2 separate regions of the Homo sapiens genome follow, and region 2 is linked to region 1. The links are contacts of gene promoters, found by promoter capture Hi-C in blood cells and fetal thymus (Javierre and others, 2016). All regions are on one chromosome and are shown on one strand. Each heading gives the region's core, a stretch centred on a gene start or on the middle of the fragment in contact. The rest is flanking DNA. Distances are from core to core; before and after follow the strand shown. Region 1 holds the start of TSC22D1 (TSC22 domain family member 1). Region 2 overlaps ESD (esterase D).

Region 1 (3,669 bases), core at 718-3,217:
GAGACACCTGTTGAGGTCAGTCGATTACAGGGCCGGCCTGCTTCTGTCCTCCAGTTAAGGATGGATTGCAACCACTCCTCGTTAGAGAAGAGCCTAGCCCAGAGGAGCTCAGGCAGTTAACTGGAAACAGCTGCAACATCTGCCCGGCCGCCTCGCCCCTGCCCGTGGAAGGGCGAGGGGACCGCATGGCAGCAACTGCACTGCACAAAAGACAACACCTATCACCGGGAGCCACCGGCCTTCCATAGACCCCACAGCTCCCGGCCCTAGGGCATCCCCCGAGGAGGCAAGGGCCGGGGGCGAGCCCAGGTGCGGCGAGGGGGAGGAGGTTTCCGCCACGCGCCAGGGAAGAAAGCCTGACTCATGTCGTGGCAGCGGCAGCAGCCGCGGCGGCGGGCTCCTGGGAACTGAAACTCGTGATGCTGTTGCTGCGGAGAAAAGCCTCATTACCCATTCCGCAGGCGGGGGACACCACCCAAGGCGCGCACACCAAGCGCCGGCGCTCCCGCCGCCTCCGCCGGCCCTTCCGCGCCGCGCCCCCTCCTCTGCCGCGTGCCCGCGCGCGCCGGCCGCGAGTGTGAAAAGAGCGGACACACCTAACCTGGGCGCGCGGCAGGCGCGCACCCTGCCCGCCCCCACCGGGCCGAATCACGCAGTCCGACCCGGATTCGCTCCTTCGGCCGGAATTCCCCACCCCCACTATCCCCTCCGGCTCCACCACTCCCGGCTTCGGCGCCTCTGCCAGCCTTCGGTAATTTCCGTCGGGAGACCTGGCGCTCGCCTAGGCCCGAAGACCCGCCGCCTCCTGCCCCGCCAGACCCGGCTTTATGTCTGCGGCGCCGAGGCGCATGCGCAGACGCCATCTTCCCTCCTCCTCCTCCGCCTGCCCCCTCCCCCCAGCCACCACCGCCTCCTCTCGCCGGCGGTCGCCCCTCCTCCTCCTGCGCTCCGCGCTGGTCCCTCCCCTCCCGATGCCGCGAGAGACTGGGGGATACGGTGGAGCCGGGGGAGCCGAAGAAGAGCACTAGTAACAACCACCACAGCCCCCTCCCCGCCCGACACCCTCCCTCGGCACCCACTCACTCCCCCGCCCCGTTTGCCGACACCGACCAACCCCACCTCGTTCCTTTGAACGGCGTCGGCTGCAGTCGCTGCACCAGCCCGTCTGGCCACCAACGCCGCGGAGAAAGGAGCCGCCGCCGCCTGCGGCCCTCTCCCGCCCGGTCGCGGGAGCAGCGGGGTGAGGAAGAGCCGGCTGCGGAGGAAGAGGATAAGAGAGGGTCGCACCCTCCGCCCTAGCGCACGTCCCGCCGCCCTCCGGAGAGGCTCGGGTGCCGGCCCCTTCCTCCCCGAGGACGTGTGCCGAGTCGAGGCGCCTGCCCTGAGGGAGGAAAATGCTCGGGCTCCATGGCTGCCAGTGATGGAGCGGTCCCTGGGCTCCCGCTGCCACCGCCGCCGCCGCGCCCCGGCCGTGCTCCGCGAGGACCCGGCGTCTCTGCGCGCCCGCCCGCGCCTCGTTGCTGGGCTCACCGTACCGGGCGCCTCGCCGCCGCCCCGCTCGCAGCCGCGTCGCCCCGGCCCCAGCCGCGGCCAGCGTTTCCTCACCGAGCAGCCGCCGCGAGCCCAGGGGGTTTGAAAGGGTCTGCGGGGCGCGGGGGGAGGGCCGAGCGGGGCCGGGAGGGGAGGTTTGAGCGACACTGAGCTCGGGGCTCGCTGGCGGCGGCGGCGGCCCCGGGGGTGGCGAGGGGAAGGCGACATTTGCTTGGCGCTGCCTCCGTGCAGAGCGGCCGGGAGGGCTTTGCAGCGGCCGCCGACGCGGCGGGAGGAGGGGGCTGAGGCGGCTTCGGAGTTGGCCGGAGAAGGTGGGCATTTCTCGCTTTTCCTCCCCTTCCTGCGCTCTCCCCCTCCCTCCTGCCCCGCACCCCACGTGAAGCAGAATATAAAGGGGGGTGTGAGGCTAGAGGGGAAAGTGAATGGCGAAGGACTGAAGGGATCCCCCCTTCGGGTCCCCGGCCGCCCTGTTCACCCTCGTTCATCCTCCTTTCCGAAGCTCGCTCTCGAAGGCAGGAGCGACCGGCGCCTTTGGCTGAGGAGGAGGAGAAGGAGGAATCGCGCCAGGCGGAGCGTCAGGTCCCGTTTTCCTCTCCGGCGTCTCCAATACAAAGATTACGGTGCAGAAGGAAATTGCACTCGTCTCCTCCGCGCCCCCGGTACCCAACACAATGCACCAGCCGCCTGAGTCCACCGCCGCGGCCGCCGCCGCTGCAGACATTAGCGCTAGGAAGATGGCGCACCCGGCAATGTTCCCTCGAAGGGGCAGCGGTAGTGGCAGCGCCTCTGCTCTCAATGCAGCAGGTACCGGCGTCGGTAGTAATGCCACATCTTCCGAGGATTTTCCGCCTCCGTCGCTGCTTCAGCCGCCGCCCCCTGCAGCATCTTCTACGTCGGGACCACAGCCTCCGCCTCCACAAAGCCTGAACCTCCTTTCGCAGGCTCAGCTGCAGGCACAGCCTCTTGCGCCAGGCGGAACTCAAATGAAAAAGAAAAGTGGCTTCCAGATAACTAGCGTTACTCCTGCTCAGATCTCCGCTAGTATCAGCTCTAACAACAGTATAGCAGAGGACACTGAGAGCTATGATGATCTGGATGAATCTCACACGGAAGATCTCTCTTCTTCGGAGATCCTTGATGTGTCACTTTCCAGGGCTACTGACTTAGGGGAGCCCGAACGCAGCTCCTCAGAAGAGACCCTAAATAACTTCCAGGAAGCCGAGACACCTGGGGCAGTCTCTCCCAACCAGCCCCACCTTCCTCAGCCTCATTTGCCTCACCTTCCACAACAGAATGTTGTGATCAATGGGAATGCTCATCCACACCACCTCCATCACCACCATCAGATTCATCATGGGCACCACCTCCAACATGGTCACCACCATCCATCTCATGTTGCTGTGGCCAGTGCATCCATTACTGGTGGGCCACCCTCAAGCCCAGTATCTAGAAAACTCTCTACAACTGGAAGCTCTGACAGTATCACACCAGTTGCACCAACTTCTGCTGTATCATCCAGTGGTTCACCTGCATCTGTAATGACTAATATGCGTGCTCCAAGTACTACAGGTGGAATAGGTATAAATTCTGTTACTGGCACTAGTACAGTAAATAATGTTAACATTACTGCTGTGGGTAGTTTTAATCCTAATGTGACAAGCAGCATGCTTGGTAATGTTAATATAAGTACAAGCAATATTCCTAGTGCTGCTGGTGTGAGTGTTGGGCCTGGAGTTACCAGTGGTGTTAATGTGAATATCTTGAGTGGCATGGGCAATGGTACTATTTCTTCCTCTGCTGCTGTTAGCAGTGTTCCTAATGCAGCTGCAGGGATGACTGGGGGATCGGTTTCAAGTCAGCAGCAACAACCAACAGTTAACACTTCGAGGTTCAGAGTTGTGAAGTTAGATTCTAGTTCTGAGCCCTTTAAAAAAGGTAGATGGACTTGCACTGAGTTCTATGAAAAAGAAAATGCTGTACCTGCTACAGAAGGTGTGCTGATAAATAAAGTGGTGGAGACTGTAAAGCAAAATCCGATAGAAGTGACTTCTGAAAGGGAGAGCACTAGTGGGAGTTCAGTGAGCAGTAGTGTCAGCACACTGAGTCACTATACAGAGA
Region 2 (3,330 bases), core at 255-2,754, 2.2 Mb before region 1:
TAGGGAATGAGGTTTAGGGAAAGAGTGTGAAGAAAAAAGAAAAGGGAGGTGGGAGGAGACAGAGTGAAAGGGAAGAAGCCAGATCCTGAGTTTTCACTGAGAAGAGGATTTGAACAACACAGTGGTGGTCAACAGCAGTTATTGGAACTGTAGATTGTTGGTTTTGGGAACACCTGTCTAGGTTGTTAAGAGCCAGTGGAATAGGACATCCTGGAAATGAAGAAACATCAAAATCCAAGGAATCTGAGAGAATGGGAACAAAAAAACACATGTAGAGATTTATGGAAAACTTGAGACACAGGGGAAGAAGGATAAAAATAGAACTCAGATTTCTGGAGGTGGATGACATTTAACTTTAATAAGTAAAGGGCCCTGTCTCTACAAAAAATTAAAAAAAAAAATATTCCAGTGTGGTACGCACCTGTAGTCCTAGCTGCTCAGGAGGCTGAGGTAGGAGAACACTTGAAGCTTGGAGTTCTAGGTTACACTGAGTCATGATTATGCAACTGTACTACAACCTGGGCCACACAGCCAAGACCCCATCTCCAAAAAATAAAAAATAAAGGGAAGAACAGTAAGGTTTGACCTTTAGGGGAATGGATGTATTATGCACTGAGAGACCCTTTCTTCTCCAAAGAATGTTGATGTTCACTAACATTTGGGAAAAATTGTGTAACTCCCACTGGCACTGTGAAATTGTTTTTCTGTTTTTGTTGTTGTTGTTGTTGTTGTTGTTTTTTGGAGGGGAAGGAGGAAGGGTGTTGTTTGGTTTTTTGGTATTCCACCCTACTCTGTCACCCTATTTCTCCCACAAAATCTGTTCTAGAACCTAAATATATATTTGTTCTAGAGCCTAAATGAAATCTACCAGATAAGTGACATGATATATACTATGTAAGTTTCCATATATATTTTTCTTACTGAATATCAGTCACTTCATCGTTCATAAGCCCACTTTTCTTATACATCCTTTCTAGTCACCCTAGTAGTAGTCCTTCAGTCCTCATCTCTTCCCTTCTTTCTCCCCATGTTACAAGTTCGACTTACAACTGAGCCAGATAGATCCATCTTCCTCTACTTACCTAGTCCCCACTCTTATTTTCTTCACTCAGGAGTTGACTACATCTCATGCTTCGAAATTACACTTGAAAACTTTGTTTATTGATTTAAAAAGATAAAAAACTTTCATAGTACTTTTACTTCAGCAGATGGTTTTGACCAAGTACCAACAAGCTTTATGGCAAAATAGGTATTAAGGTGGCCTGTGGCAAATAATTAGATTATGGGCAATTAAGGTAATTAAGTGGTGATGTGGTATCCCATCAGGGTGTACAGTCATTTACCTCAAAAGAAGAAAACATCTCTATTGAGAATGCATATGCATATAAAAGCTCTGTATAACCTTTGCTGTGAAAAGTATATCCCATTTGTAAACCATTGGTGTTTTTTTCAGAATCGCCTACCATTTGGTGCAAGCAAAAAGCAATCAGCAATTGGACAGGTAAACTTGTTTTATTGTTTATATGTTACTCTGAACATTGAATGAAAATACCACTAATAGCTTGTTTTAAAACGTGCTATTTTTCACATAGAAAAATTCTATTGAAAAATATAACCACCTATTATAATGTATCAGATATCATAGTATATCACAGTATGTCATATCTAGTTCTTAGTTTATGTCATATTTCTTGTTAAGCCTAACATATTTTTTTGATTTGTAATTAAAGATAGTTTCTAAAATGGTGGGTAGAAAAAATACTTTAAAAGCTTTGTTTTTTAAAAAATATTCTACCAACTTTTAAAAAGTGTTTTAATCTTGTTTCTTCTGGCCAAATGAAAAGCATTTGATTTTGAATTTTAAGAGCAGAGAAAACTGACAACTTGAGGTTTATTAAAATAGACGAATAGCAAAGATACAGACTCCTATGTACCAGATACGTGCTCAGTGTACCATCTTTTGCAAAGTGGATATAGTCCTTTCTAAGTTTAAGAAAATCTGGTTTCCTTGTGGAATAATGGAGCAAATAAATTTTATTTGTTGGTCTCATATATATGTATTAATATATTAAAATTAGTATCTCTCTCTATAAGTTCATTATTTAAGATAGGATTGTTAACAGTAGCTAAAGTTAATATTCAGTAACTAATAACATCTCATGGGAGTTTATTGTTTAAGAATTAATCTTTTATAGATTAAAAGCATAAAACTGAGCAGATGGTAATTTCTTTGTGTACAGTTGTAATATCATAATTCTATAGAATCAGTTATCTTAAAGTGTCTTAAAAAATGAGTATTTAAAGAACCTCTAGAGAGTCAGGACAGCATAGCAGTTAAGAGTAGGGCTTCTGATGTCAGACTTCTGGGTTCAAATCCCAGTCTTCCAAAATAAAACTATTTGGGTTTATTGAAGAAATTAGAGATAAGATTGAAACTAATTTTTTAAAGTATTTTATAAAGACATTTCCAAAATTAGCTTTTTAAGATTATTGTTATACATCTTTGAAAGAGTAATCCTAAAGCTCCAGCTGATTAGCATGTAGTAGTGCATTTCTCTGAGAAGATCACCAGGGTGGTAATACCTGTTCCTGATATCTAAAGCTTTTTCTTCAATATGTAGGACTTACTGCCTTATATTCTAATACAGTGTTTCTAGGAATAGAAAGGGAATCTTTCTTTGAGAGGTACATGTCAGAATCAGTGTGGTTTCCCTTTGCTTAATAGGCATTTATGATAAAGATAGTTTTCCAACTTTTTTCCTGTATTTATCATTAAAAGCAATAAAATATGTCATTTTACATGTAAGTTTAAAATTATTTTTACATGAAAACAAAAGATTTGTTGGACAGAAAAGAAGTTAACAGGCTTGTTTTACTTATTGGTTTGTTTTAAAAGGAGAAATAAATGTTGATCTTAAAGTTTCATATCACTTTCTCTTAAAAATTCATGGGATGAGTAATTGGATCTGGTTTAGTGTCTAGAAAAATGTGTATCACACCGTAAGTGTTCAGTAATGTTACATATTATTATTACCAAAATCATTATCACATCTTTCTTCCATTTTAAAATCAACTATAATCAGTCATACCAATTCCTTGACTACTTTGTTGCAGTTGATAGGCAGACTATTAACAATTTTTAATCTTCTAAACTAAGGTAATTAATTGGTAACTTATGTATTTTCTGCCTCTTTTAAAAATAATTTGGGGCAGTCCACCACAACGAAAAAACTTGTTAATAAATTAGTAATGATATACCAAAGTATGAAAGCTTTTAAAAGTGAGTAACAAGTGTAAATGCATGTATGAGCGTTAATCAGTTTCTTAATA

Evidence for each region. Contacts are between HindIII fragments. The CHiCAGO score rates a contact against its expected background, and 5 or more counts as called.
Region 2: a contact is called between a fragment that was not itself captured here and the fragment with the promoter of TSC22D1 in region 1, in 1 of 17 cell types (non-activated CD4 T cells). The highest score is 5.6, in non-activated CD4 T cells.

The regions. Positions count from the first base shown.
Region 1 is chr13:44,574,628-44,578,296 of GRCh38, reverse strand. It overlaps TSC22D1 (TSC22 domain family member 1), which reads left to right and starts at 1,967. Exons shown (of 3, transcript NM_183422.4): 1 at 1,967-3,669. The coding sequence starts at 2,223. TSC22D1-AS1 (TSC22D1 antisense RNA 1) reads right to left here and starts at 2,401. Exons shown (of 3, transcript NR_038381.1): 1 at 2,027-2,401; 2 at 1,120-1,255; 3 at 1-195. RefSeq lists silencers at 275-324, 505-704, 975-1,214, 1,225-1,934 and an enhancer at 2,255-2,494. The HindIII fragment of the contact is 6,017 bases long and covers 1-3,669 here.
Region 2 is chr13:46,791,568-46,794,897 of GRCh38, reverse strand. It overlaps ESD (esterase D), which reads left to right. Exons shown (of 10, transcript NM_001984.2): 2 at 1,454-1,501. Among named protein-coding and RNA genes, the nearest start is that of ESD, 3.9 kb to the left of the region's middle. The HindIII fragment of the contact is 537 bases long and covers 1,236-1,772 here.